Regions from separate parts of the Homo sapiens genome. Here region 1 is linked to region 2. Evidence: promoter capture Hi-C in human tissues and cell types (Jung and others, 2019). All regions are on one chromosome and are shown on one strand. Each heading gives the region's core, a stretch centred on a gene start or on the middle of the fragment in contact. The rest is flanking DNA. Distances are from core to core; before and after follow the strand shown.

What was found. Contacts are between HindIII fragments. The study calls those that stand out against the background at their distance.
Region 1: a contact is called between a fragment that was not itself captured here and the fragment with the promoter of TP53BP2 in region 2, in 1 of the 25 tissues and cell types used here (aorta).

The regions. Positions count from the first base shown.
Region 1 is chr1:223,897,784-223,905,087 of GRCh38, forward strand. No RefSeq gene overlaps it. Among named protein-coding and RNA genes, the nearest start is that of TP53BP2, 55 kb to the left of the region's middle. The HindIII fragment of the contact is 3,051 bases long and covers 2,943-5,993 here.
Region 2 is chr1:223,842,752-223,849,273 of GRCh38, forward strand. It overlaps TP53BP2 (tumor protein p53 binding protein 2), which reads right to left and starts at 3,196. Exons shown (of 18, transcript NM_001031685.3): 1 at 2,903-3,196. The coding sequence starts at 2,929. RefSeq lists a silencer at 3,024-3,333. The HindIII fragment of the contact is 6,657 bases long and covers 1-6,004 here.

The DNA.
Region 1 (7,304 bases), core at 3,218-5,717, 56 kb after region 2:
TCACACTCAAAATCAGGGGGAATTCCTTGAAATGGTTAAAATGCAAAAGTGAAATTTAGAAGCCCTATGAATGAAACAACAATCCAACAAAAAATTCCCAACACTTTAAGCAAATGCTTTTCAGGCAGAGCCTTCAAATTGCTACTGTCCCACTATCTTCTGGAATTGTGTGTGTGTGTGTGTGTGTGTGCGCGCGTGTGTGTGTGCACGCGTGTGTGTGTAGAGCAACAGGTGAAGCAGCAACCATAAGGTAGCCTACTTCAGGTCTGGCACCTGTTTTCACTGCTGTCATGTCCTCTTCACTGAGATCCTGACTTAAATATGTACACATGTGAATGCTGATTTCTTAGCATGAATTTTAACTCAGCTCCTGCTCGAGCATCAATGATTCCCAATTCCCATCAGAGTGAATGGCCCCTTCCTGGTCTCTGCAGTCAGTCCTCTGAAGCTGCTCAGCTGCACCCCTGGGAGCTGAGGGGCCAACTCTGACTCCCAAGAAGGTGACCTCTGTCTCCCTTCCAGGGCCAGAGATGCAACATCACACACACACTGCCTTTGGAACGTGTGATTAAGATTTTGGCTGCCAGTAGCCTGACAGCTTCCAGCAGCTTTGTCTGCCACTGTGTCCGCTTCTCTGTGCCAAAGTCACTGAAACAAAGGGACTGCAGATGTTGCTGTGAAGTCCTTCTGATTCTCCAGGACAGAGGATAGCACTACATTGGGTGGGGGGTAGAGTGGGGATGATGGACTTTGGGAAACCTGCATGATGGGCGTGAAACAATAAAAATGAAGCTGATTTTCTTCATAGCACTTGCTGCCGTAGAGATACATTTGTTTCTGTGTCCCTCTCACTGGAATGTAAACTCCCTGAAAGCAAGGACTTGGCTTATTTCTGTATCCCAAGAGCCTGACACAGTGCCTGGCACATGGTAGACACTCAATAGATGTTTGAGATAGGGAGGGAGGGAGGGAGAGAGGGAGGGAGGCAGAAAGGGAGGGAGGCAGAAAGGGAGGGAAGGAAGGAGCAAGGAAGGAAGGAAGGAAGGGAGGGAGGGAGGGAGGGAGGGACATAGACTGTGGAGTTGGATAGACTTGGCTTTAATCCTTTCTGTAGCAATTCTAGCTGTGTAAAAATACGCGAGTGAGTCATTTATTTTCTTCGAGTCTCTTTCTTCATCATAGTACCAATTAACAGGGCTGGGGTAGAGAGTGATACATGTAAGGTTGCTAGCACTATTGGCAATCAAAACATGAGAGCTACTTATTTACATTGTGAGTATTGCTACTACTGATATTATTAGTTCTGGACATTACTAATGATGTGAGCACTGGCCTTTCATCAGAGATTACTGGATAAGGAACATTTACCGTCTTGTCTCTGCACATTGTGCTAAAGTTCCTTCTTTATCCAACAACACTTTCTCCTGTTTTCCCAATTTAGTGAAAGGATTAATCTTTTCACTCTCATTCTTCCTGTTTTGTTTCCCATAATATGGGTCCCATCCTTCCTCATGAGATGGGTATCTCAGCAATTGAGCCCACCCCACCCACATATTTGACCCTGATCCAAGACCCTCATTTCTGGGAATGAACCCCAGATCAGCCATGATAGAGGATAGCCTGGTTTTATCTTTTTGCTTGTGAGCAGGATCCAACAATTCTCATAAAATTTTCCCCAGCCTGTTCAGTGGAATTGTCAAAGCATCATTTTCAAAAAGTGAAAATATGATTCTTATATAAGTCTATAGGGAGTGTGTATAAAGATCTATATACTTCACAAAAGAAAGAACCAGAAGATGGTAAAGCTGTTTGAAAAGAGAATTGGAAGGAGAAAGATTTGGATAGACCATCAGAAACAGCATGCTGACATAAGTTTGCTAATTTGGAAACCTCACTCGTTAATGTCCTGTAGAGCAATAAAATCTTTTTACAGGACAAAAATCATTTGTATCTCTACCAGACAAAAATTAACATGTAACTTGGCAGAGTCTGGGCCCTAATCAATAGTAAATAGTAAGTCAAACAAAAGTACATTCCCTTAGAGAGTTAAAAAAAGCTTTGGTGGTTTGTTAGGCAACCTTCCAGTATGGCATTAGAAAGACGTGCAGTCATCCTATTTTTACTTCCGAGTTTGGGATACTGTTTTTTTTTTGAGATGGAATTTTGCTCTTGTTGGCCAGGCTGGAATGCAGTGGCGTGATCTCACCTCACTGCAACCTCCACCTCCCCGGTCCAAGCAATTCTCCTGCCTCAGCCTTCCCAGCAGCTGGGATTACAGGTACACACCACCACGCCTGGCTAATTTTTGTATTTTTTAGTAGACACAGGATTTCACCACGTTGGCCAGGCTGGTCTCAAACTCCTGACCTCAAGTGATCTGCCCACCTTGGCCTCTCAAAGTGCTGCGATTACAGGCATGAGCCACCATGCCTGGCCAAGTTCAGGATACATGTTTAAAACAAAATTGGTCCCCCTCAGCCTGGTGGATGTCCCTGCAGAATTTTAAAATACTATTATGTTCTAGATGTCTGATGCTGTCAATTCTCAATGGCCAGAAGAGGGCATCTGCCCAGATCAGTTCAGGTGTCTATCCCTGGTCCGATCGCCTGTGCCCAGGGTAGCACATCAGGTACACAGGGCTGTTTCTTCCCTCCTATTGGTAGAATAGCTTTTCCAAGAAGGGGATAGGCTGGAATGGAAGAAAAGAGTCCAAAGAGGAAGGAACCACAACAGAAAGAGAATTGCTTTCCTTTCAGTTGTGGGAGCACCAGCTTAATGCCTCTTCCACATTTGCCCAGCAGAGGAAATGATTGGGCCGAATGACAGAAAACCTAGGATAGCCTTTTTGGTGCCTCCTGACAATCACAGAAGCGGGCTGGGATCCTACCCAGGTATGGCAGAGCAAGTGAGCCCACCTAGGTGGGAATCCTTACCCTCCTAATCCTGCAGGTTCACTTCACAATCTTGTGTAGACCTTAAACCATTGTTTAGACAGTTATATGAAATGGGGTATTTTCTGAAGAAAAGGACAGTGAATGGGGATATGGGGATTTTTTTTTTTTTTTTTTTTTTTTTGAGACAGAGTCTCACTCTGTCGCCTAGGCTGGAGTGCAGTGGCATGATCTCTGCTCACTGCAACCTCTGCCTCCTGGGTTCAAGTGATTCTCCTGCCTCAGCCTCCCGAGTAGCTGGGATTACAGGCGCCCACCACCACACCCAGCTAATTTTTGTATTTTTAGTAGAGACAGGGTTTCACCGTGTTGGCCAGGCTGGTCTCAAACTCCTGACCTCAGGGTATTCCGCCCGCCTTGGCCTCCCAAAGTGCTGGGATTACAAGCATGAGCCACCGCACTGGGCTGGGGATTTCTAAGTCCACTTGGATCTCTCCCCTCTGGGCCTCAATGGGCAGCATTTTATCTGTAGCCTTTTTATCTTATAATAGTTTAATGGATCTATTTTGAGTAAGGGATATGTACAAATTCTTTTGTGATTCCAGGAGGAGATGAGAAGTACAAAGTGCAATTATAAAATTATCATTGTCACCATTATCTCCAATCAGCACATCATTCACAGTGACAGTTCTAAGAGCTTTATATGGGAAAAGTGTAATCTATTGCAAATAGAGGGCCATCATTACTGCTCTTAGGCTCCCTTTAGGATTAGGGATGCAGGTTATCATCTAGGTCCTGTGGTCTCCTAGAGAGAGCAGGGAGCACCATCTCCATTAGTCGAAAGAAAGAAATGTAAATGTTATGAGATGAGACTAGGGCAATGACTCCCTGTTCTTGAGACAACGAGTCAATTCAGTGTCGAAGAAAAACTCAGTAAGCTTTGATGCCTTGCTCTTAACCTACAAACTTGGTAGAGCCACAGAAAGAACATGGAACAAAATGAAGAAATGGTTTAGTTCCTCTAAGGATCCTTTCATACTTAGGCATTGCTTAATCCAGTTGACTGATTTTTCAAAGAATCTTGCCATATCTGATTTGAAAGCACACAAAGTAGGTGGCTACTTCACGCCTCATCTCTTGGCTCTAGGATCATATTGGGATCAGGTTCTTTGCAGATCAGAAATGGCATAGGGGAGTGTACCGGGAATCAGACAAACCTAAGCACACATCCAGATTCTGCCATTTTTTTTTTTTTTTTTTTTTAGCTGTGTGGGAAAATCTCTTTGCTACTGACATGGTTTGGCTCTGTGTCCCCACCCAAATCTCATGTTGAATTGTAATCCCCAGTGTTGGAGGTGGAGCCTGATGGGAGGTGATTGGATCATGGGGGTGGTTTCTAATGGTTTAGCACTATCCCCCAGTGCTGTCTCATCATAGAGTGCTCATGAGATCTGGTTGTTTAAAAGTGTACAGCACTCCCGCTTTAGCTCTCTTCCTCCTTCTCCAGCCAAGTAAGACGTGCCTCCTTCCCCTTCACCTTCTGCCATGACTGTCAGTTTCCTGAGGCCTCCCAAGCCATGCTTCCTGTATGGCCTGTGGAACTGAGAGTCAATTAAACATCTTTCTTTTTTTTTTTTTTTTTTTTTTGAGATGGAGTCTCACTGTCACTCAGGCTGGAGTGCAGTGGTGTGATCTTGGCTCACTGCAACCTCCACCTCCAGGGTTCAAGCAATCCTCCTGCCTCAGCCTCCTGAGTAGCTAGGATTACAGGTGTGCACCACCACACCCAACTAATTTGTGTGTGTGTGTGTGTGTGTGTGTGTTTAGTAGACACAGGGTTTCACCATGTTGGTCAGGCTGGTCTCTAACTCCCGACCTCGTGGTCTGCCCACCTCAGCATCCCAAAGTGCTAGGATTATAGGCATGAGCCACCATGCCCGGCCCACCTCTTTTCTTTATAAGTTACCCGGTTTCAGGTAGTTCTTCATAGCAATGCAGACTAATACAACTACTTTGAGTCTCACCTTTCCTTATTTGGAAAAATATTTCCATTGAAGTGTTATGGTGAAGATTCAATACAATTAAATGATATAACATATGTAAAGGGCTTAGAAATAACCCAATGGCTAATAAGCAACCAAGGAGTGGTAGCTCTCAGTATAGTCAGCCTCTAAGAAGAGAGCAAATGTTTATTTTCAAGAAGAATTATGCAGAAAGGGCCACTTTCAGTCTACCATCCCCCCAAATTCCTTGAAGGAAGGATGATGTGAGCAGCAAGGGAAGACAGGAGAGTGGGCATGAAATACTACAGAACCTGCAAGGAATGAAGTCCCTCTGTCTGTGTGTGCCTATATCAATAATTTAAACTTACACATTCATGAGATGCACTGTGTTTATTAGGATGTACATGTGTCCCTAAGAATCTGAGAGTTCCTGAGGGACAGAGACGGTGTCTTACTCATCTGCTCTCCCCAGGTCCTGGCTTACTATCTGGCACTTATTGGGTAATAAATGTCTGTTGAATGCATGGAAAAAGAAAGGTAGGAAAGGTATGAAGGAGAAGATGGAGGTCACGACCAGTAGAAATCTCAGCTGTTCTGCCTGGGCTCCATGTCATCTCCCTGCTATTAGGCCCATCAGAATGTAAGCACAAATGCCTAGAGAATGACAAGCTTCTTTGGGACTCTGCTGACTAGACATGACATAAGACTGGACAGCTCCTGGGGAACTTCCAAGAGCTGGCTCCAGGCAGTAACTAATCCTAGGAGCTGCTGGCTTGGCTGCCTCTCTCCCTTCCTTATTTCCAAGATTGGTCACCTCCTGCTCTGAAATAGCAATTGATTTTCAGACATGAGTTGATAGAGCCATGATTTTCTAATACTGTTCCAAAGGGGCTAAAGTACCTCTGAGGAGCAGTGCAGGCTAGGATCAAACTCTCCCTACCTTCCACTCCACTCCCTACCTTGCCCCTCCACCTCTGCCCACTTTCTATTTCCTCAGGCACAGCAGCTTCTACCTTATGGATTACAAATTCTGGTCATCCATCTATGGTTGCATTAGGAAAAGAGTACTGCTACTTTCATTTTCTTTTCTAACCACTGCCCTAGAAGAATAACACCTCACATTCTCTGGTAGACTGAAGCCTGCAGCTGCAAGGATGCTCAGAAAACCAGACTTCTATTCATTGGCCACTTGCTGCACTTTCTGTCCCTCGATCCTTGCAATGTACCTTTGAGGTAGGCATAAAAATCCCCATTTATAAGTGAGAAAACCAAGGCAAAAGAGGTTCAGTTTATTTCAGGCTCAAATGTGCTTCCAATAGCTTATAGCCTCTACAGCTAGTGTTTGAACCCAGGTCTGAAACAAATAGGATTGACAAGGGGAGGGAAAAGAGGAACAGAAATTCTTTTCTATAAGACAATTGTTTATGCAGCCAGGATTTCTTAAAATCCAGTCTGTGCCTACGGACATAATCTTTGAATTTGCTTTGTTTCTCGATGAATAACTTGGAAGCTATTCAAATAACTTGGAAGCTTCCTTTAAAAGGAACATAAGGAGGTGATTTTTAACTAACCCTAGGTGTACTTTCTGAGCCAAATAGATTTTCAAATAAGAAAATGAGAGGACGTGAGCTTGAGGAAAATGATAGGCATTCCAACCTCACCTGCTTGCTGACAACCTCCACGTGATTTCAACAATGATTTCAAATATTTCACTTTTTAAGTCAGTGTGACTTAAGTATGAAATTGCCTCTCCCTAAAGCTCCCCTAAGGCCTAAACAGTTGTCATTACCATAGCTGTGACAGGGAGACTGTTGAATTTATAATCTATTGGCCATTCACAGCATAGCATATAAACCTAGCTCATGATTTCTTTGCAATAGAAGTGCACTTTTTCATCATATTCCCTTCACAACTTACTCACCAGATCAGACTTTGAGCTCTCCTCCAGGCTGGCTTAGCCTGGATCATTTGAAATGGTCATCCATCCTTTGGCCCCAATACCTAAACTAAGGTCTATGAACAATAAGATTATTTTCTTCAGTGGGACTTTTTTGTTTAATATAATATTAGATTTTTCCCCTGATACAAGGCTCAATCTTTTTCTTTTTAAAGCAATATTTCTCAAAGTACTTTTCACAGAACTTAAGTTTCATTAAGCACTTCACTAAAAGTCTGTGATCTAATAAATTTGGAAAATATTGAGAATTAGAGCCCCCTCTTAGATATGTACTGTAGCTACTCAGCTTGTTACAGATGAAGTAAACATTGTAATATTCACCCAGCTTTTGAGTGATGTCTATTAACGTCACCCAAATGAGTATTCCACAGAATGCACTTTGCAAAAACCTATTATTCAAGAAAATTCTGGAGCATGAAAGCTATTAACGATAAACCCATTCACAAAATCACA
Region 2 (6,522 bases), core at 1,946-4,445:
TCAAACGACTAAGAATTTTTGCTTTTGGTAACTGCCTCCCTTTACATGAAAATCAAATACAACATGCGGATCACTAAAAAGCCAAACTCTCAAAGTGCAAATAATCTCTTCTTTCATCAGGAAAAAGATGTCAAGTATGAAAGTAAAACCAGTTTCTCCTCGGCAAGTTGTGGAAATATCATAGAACTAGAGATACTAACAATGGCAGGTATCTGAAAGTGAGAGTAATTATCAATCCCATTTCTGCAGTACCCTATCATTATCTCTACTGTGATTTGCAGAGCTTGCTACTTATTTTTAGTTAGCCTTCTAAAATACATCTTCCACTTTTGGTTTTGGATCCAATTATCACTTCATGTCCCACATAAAAGAAAACCACTTGATCCTGTACCATTTGGTGAGAAAACACATGAACACAATTTATTTGCACTTTTTTTTTTTTTTATGGAGTCACTCTTAGTTACCAGGCTGGAGTACAGTGGTGCCATCTCGGCTCACTGCAACCTCCACCTCCAGGGTTCAAGCAATTTTGCCTCAGCCTCCCGAGTAGCTGGGACTACAGGCGCACGCCACCACACCCAGCTAATTTTTGTATTTTTAGTAGAGACGAGGTTTCACCATGTTGGCCAGGAGGGTCTCAATCTCTTGACCTCGTGATCCGCCCGCCTCGACCTCCCAAAGTGCTGAGATTACAGGCATGAGCCACCGCTCCTGGCCTATTTGCACATTTTTAATATAATGCAGTCTAAATAGTAAACCATTATCTTCAGAATGCCTTTAAAAGCAAATCAAGGGTTGTACCTAATGCCACAGAACTGTACACTTAAATATAGTTAAAATGGCATATTTTATTTTATGTATATTTTACCACAATAAAAGTACATCAAGGCAATTGTCTACATTCTGAGACTATCCATTTTTTTACACTAAATGGCTTTTCCTGATAAATTGGTTAGAATTTTCCAAAGCAATGTAACAAAATTACATTTATGTTGGAATAAAAATCCAAGCATATGAAAAGCCAAAGATGAGAAATATACTTAATAAAAGTTTTATTTTCAAATATCCAAAATATTACAGTATAAAGACACATATAACATGAGTCTACTAAATGAAAAATTATTTCATATTTTTATATATCACAAATCTGAGAATCTCCACTTTAACCAACATTGGAAATTCAGAGGCGTTTATCTACCGCCTATTGCAAGCTAGACACTGTACTAATCACACTTCCTTCATAAACATAACTCTAATCCTCAAACCACCCTAAGAGCTGAGTACTATTATCCCCATTTTACAGATGATGAAACTGAGGGACAAGTTTTTTTTAAGTGGCTACGTCACTAAAGGTAGTAGCTGAGCAATACTGAAGTGTTAGTCTGACTTCAAAGCTGGTGTAAGTGCCATCATACCACACTGAGTCTGTGTTAGGATTGTATTCTGACATCAGAAAGGCAATCAGAAGAACCATACTGCTAAATTGAATATAGTCTCAAGAGCCACATAACGTTTTATGAATTCGGCTACACAACGGATACCTTGGTAGGGTATCTCCAAAGGATACCTTGACAAAAAACAAGGAAGAAACCATATAGCAACAACTGATACGTGTTTCTCTTGCTCCTACTGTTAGGAAAAATTCACAGACAATCCGTACAAGTTACTTCAACACAAAGAAATGTAAATCCAGGAAATAAAAATCTTAACAGCAAAATCCATCACCCTTATCTATGGTCCATTATTTCAATATTGGGTATTCACACTACAAACCTGATTTCATAACCAGGCATTAAACTAAAATAAGATGCATAATGCTATTAATACTTTCAAATTCCTTGAATCCTGGCAGGACAAAATATCCCAAACCCTCTAAACCCAATTACTAATTCTAGTGAATTGTTAAGTCGACCCAGTGAGAGTTTGGGACGCCCTCCATGACACAAGCAGGGGGCCAGGGAACAGCATATTATACTCTGTATGTATGACTGCAAACTTTGTCATCACTCCATTCCACAGACTTCATAAAAGTAAAAGCTTTTTGTTTCTTTGTCTGAACAAATGGAGCCACAAGCATAGGATGCCTGCAAGATGTCCCCACTTCAGTGGGAGAGGTGCAAATACAACTTCCACGAAGAAACTCGCTACTGAAGTCTGCAGAAGCCACCGCAACACACCGCAAACCTCCATTCCGCGATCGCTGAATGACAGAGACATTTCTGAAATGTCTCAAACCTGCTGTTCATCTGTGGCCTGGTGGCCGTGTCAAAAGCCTGCGGAGCTCCTAAAGAAGGCACTAATCCTCTCCGGAGGTCTTGCTAAAAGCTGTGGGAAACGAAGGGAGCCAGGCACGTACGCTTTCCTGCAATCTAAAACTTCCGAGATTGCATTTACCAAAACCCCTTTCCACAAAGAGGTAAGGGTGACTTAGCTGCTACTGTGGATATCAAGATCGAAATTCAATTAAAAACAAAGCAAAGGTACCCGTTCCAGTAACGTATGTTTCACTCCAGTAAAAAGTAAAAAGACACAGCAAAGAACAAGGTCCCCGGTTCCCGTATTCTTGACCTTCAAGAACTGCAAAAAAGTCAAGACCCAGTGAAAGACGAAAAGTTTGAGTGGCTGCTGGGCTCGCGGGCGGCTCGCCTGACTCCGGAGCAGCTGGAGGAACCCGCCTCGAGGTTAGGGTCTCGCCGCGCCCCCACGACGGCTGTGGGCGCAGAGCCCAGAGGATGGAGCCTCCCCTTCCTGAAACCCGCTCGAAGCTCGGAAAGCCCCGGCCCCTCCGCGCGGGCTGCGGCCCCCAGGCTCCTTCCCCGACGCGCCCGAGGGCGCGGACCAGCCCCCGGCACGCGACCCCGCACACTTCCGGGCCCGACGCCCTGGCCGCTCGCCCACTTACCGGCATCATCTTGGACCCGAACCGCATGGAAGCGGGTGGCCAGACTGCGGCCCCGGCCGAGCTGAGGTGCCCCGGAGGGTCGCGGATGCGGGGGAGGGGAGCGGAGAGCGAGGCCGCCCGGACCTGTTGCGAGGCGGCGGCGGCGGCAGCGGCGGCGCGCGGGTCCGAAGGGCCCTCCGCGCGGGCTGGGGCACCAACAAGCCCCGGGCTCCCCCGCCCCGGCCGGGCCCCCTGACGCGGCTTTGTCTCTTCGACGCTCGTGACGGTCGGGGCTCCCTCCTCCGCTCCGAAACCAACTAATCCCGGGTCGGGCCCCAGCCGAGCCCGTGCCGGCTCCGCCCCCCGCGCCGACCCCGCCCGCGGCGCGCCCGGCGGCCTGGGGGAGGGGCGGCCGCGGGAACGGGAGCTGCGCGCGCCTGCGCGGGCCCGGCTGGGTAGACGGGGAGCGGCGGGAGCCGGCCGCCTTTTCTTTCTTCGCCCCGGACTGAAGTGCGGTCGGGGCCGCGCGGCGGAGCGGCTGGAGCGCGCGCCTCCTAGCGGAGCCGGGGCAATTGGAAGGCCGCGCCTCAGGAAAACAGGATGGTAGTGAATGGCACCGAGCCGCCCCAGGGCTGCCGCCGTCACCTCCTCGGCGGCTCCGAGTCGTGCGAGGCAGGGGACCCTTTGCCTTCAGAACAGGGCGCCCGACGTTGGGCGCGTGGACAGAGTCCTCCGGCGGCCGCGCCGCTGGGCCAGGCGGAGAGAGGCGGACGGACTTCAGGGGAGGCCCGGGCCACGCCGCGGAAACTACCCGACTCCCTGGAGGCGGCCAGGACCGACCCTGTCCCGACAAAATGGAGTTCCCCGTGTGGCTTCAGCTCGCGGCGCGTTCCCAGAGCTCCTCAGTGATCCGGCTTTCGGATTGTTCGCCTTTCATCTCATTTGCCGTTGTCCAAATTCTAATTTAAAACTCATGTGTTACTTGCTGTAAGGTTAACAAACGTACACCGCAAACTGGATAAAGGGATAACTTTTATGTTGTGTATGTTTTACCACAATAAAAATAAATTTTGTAAAAATGTGTCAGGCAGCATTCTGAGGAGCTTCCCTGGGGGGTGCTGGGAACACCCTGCAAACAGCCTCCGATACGGGGAGCCGGTGGATACCATCCTTTTCCAGGGAGGGAGGCCAAGGCCTAGGGAAATGGCAGGGCTGCCTTCCAAAGAGTAGCAGAGCGGGTTCAGGCTTTTATTCCACCTTCCAGAGAGACACATACTGCGGGAACCCTAACTCCAGGAAGCTTTGTTCTAGTAAGTTGTCAGTGCAAGTTCACTCAGAATCACTTTTCTCTGCCTTTATACATGATTCTAGAACCTGAAGTGGGGTAAATCCCCTGGGTTTATCTAGTATCAAGAACAGACAATTCTTTCTTAGCCCACCATATCCCTTACCAGAATCTCCATCGAACTCCCTATTGCACCATCCCAGATACTGTATCTGGAAATACTAAATTACGGTTAATTCAACTAGAATTTAACGTTCTCGCCCGGGCGCAGTGGCTCACGCCTGTAATCCCAGCACTTTGGGAGGCCGAGGCGGGCAGATCACCTGAGGTCAGGAGTTCGAGACCAGCCTGGCCACGTGGTGAAACCCTTGTCTCTACTAAAAATATAAAAATTAGCCGGGCATGGTGGCGCATGCCTGTAATGCCAGCTACTCGGGAGGCTGAGGCAGGAGAATCTCTTGAACCTGGGAAGCGGAGGTTGCAATGAGCAGAGATCACCCCACTGCACTTCAGCCTGGGCAACGAGAGTGAAACTCCATCTGAAAAAAAAAAAAAGAATTTAACGTTCTCAAAAAATCTGGTTTATAGTCTTGTTTTCTTAAGAGGGTTATACTGAGTTAAGCAAAATAAATTCATCCCTCATTCAGTAAATATTTATTAAATACCTGCCACTTGGTAGATATTCTTCTAAGTCCTAGGGATACATCAATGAACAAAAAGTTCAAAAGACAAGTGTAGTTATTGTGAAAAAAATAGAATAAGGTAAGAGAAGGGGATAAGGTGTACAGGTGCAACTTTAAATATGGTGGTCAAGGTAAGCCTCACTGAAAAGGCGGTGTGTGAGCACAGTCTTGAAGGAAATGAGGGTGTGAACTCCACAAATATGAAGGAAGATTTCCAGGCAGAGGGAACAGCCAACGCTAAGGCCTGATATGGGAGCCTGCCTGGCAAATTCTGGGACCATCAAGGAGGCTAAGATAGCTGGAGCAGACGATGAGGGGAGAGTAGTAGGAGATGAGATGGAGTGATATGAAGGGCCAGACAAGGAGGGCCTTGTAGGCTATTCTAAGGACTTTACCTTTGCTCTGAGTGAAATGGGGAGTTATGGAAAGGTTTTGAACAGAAGAGTGATGTCAGCTGACATATTTTAAGAGCTGCTGTGGAAAACTGAAAGTCAACAGAGAACAGTAAGAAACTCTTGTGATAAGCCAAGCAAAAGATGGAAGTGGCTTGCTCAAAGGCGATAACAGCGTCTATGGCAAATAGTGGTCAGGTTTTGGATATATTTTCAAGTCCAAACCCACAGAATTTCCTGACAGATTAGATGTGGAATATGAGAGAAAGAAGCCCAAATTTTTGTCCCAAAAGATGGAAGTTGCCACAAACCAAAATGGAGAAGACCATGAGTGGACCAAGTTACAGAAAAGAGGAGATCAATTGGGAACATGTTAACTTTCAGAATCTTAATAATAAAAGAAACCCTAATACTGAAATTTAGCACGTTTGTGGGAAGCAATAATTCTTTTTTCTTTTAACTTTTAGGTTTGGGGCTACATATGCAGGTTTGTTACATAGGCAAACTCGTGTCACAGGGGTTTGTTGTACAGATTATTTCATCACCCAGGTATGAAGCCCAGTACCCAATAGTTATCTTTTCTGCTCCACTCCTTCCGCTCACCCTCCACCCTCAAGTAGGCCCTACTGTCTGTTGTTCCCTTCTTTGCATTCATGAGTTCTCATCATTTAGCTCCCTCTTCTAAGTGAGAACATGCAGTATTGGGTTTTCTGTTCCTACGTTAGCTTGCTAAGGATAATAGCCTCCACTTCCATTCATGTTCCCACAAAAGACATGATCTTGATATTTTTTATGGCTGCATAGTATTCCATGGTGTATATGTAGCACATTTTCTTTATCCAGTCTGTTATTGATGGATATTTAGGTTGACTCAATGTCTTTGCTATTGTGAATAGTGCTACAATGAACATTCACATGCATGTGTCTTTATGGTAGAATGATTTATATTCCTCTGGGTATGCACTCAATAACGGGATTCCTGGGTTGAATGGTAGTTCTGGGAAGCAACAATTCTTTTTGGTAAACTGCAGTTCATAAAGGGACTATTTTACACCAAAAAACCTACTTCATATTCCACTGGGGTTTTTTTTTATTTTTTTGCAGACAAAGAAGTCCCCAAAACAGCTGAAGATATTATGATCCACAGTCATCCAGGAAAAGAATTCTGGATATTGGTCACTAACCTTCCAGTTCTCACCAAAAAACCGTGTCTCATTACCACCCTAAAACTGGTTGTACACAATAGTAAATTATACTTAGTATGAGTGCTGGCAGCCCTAG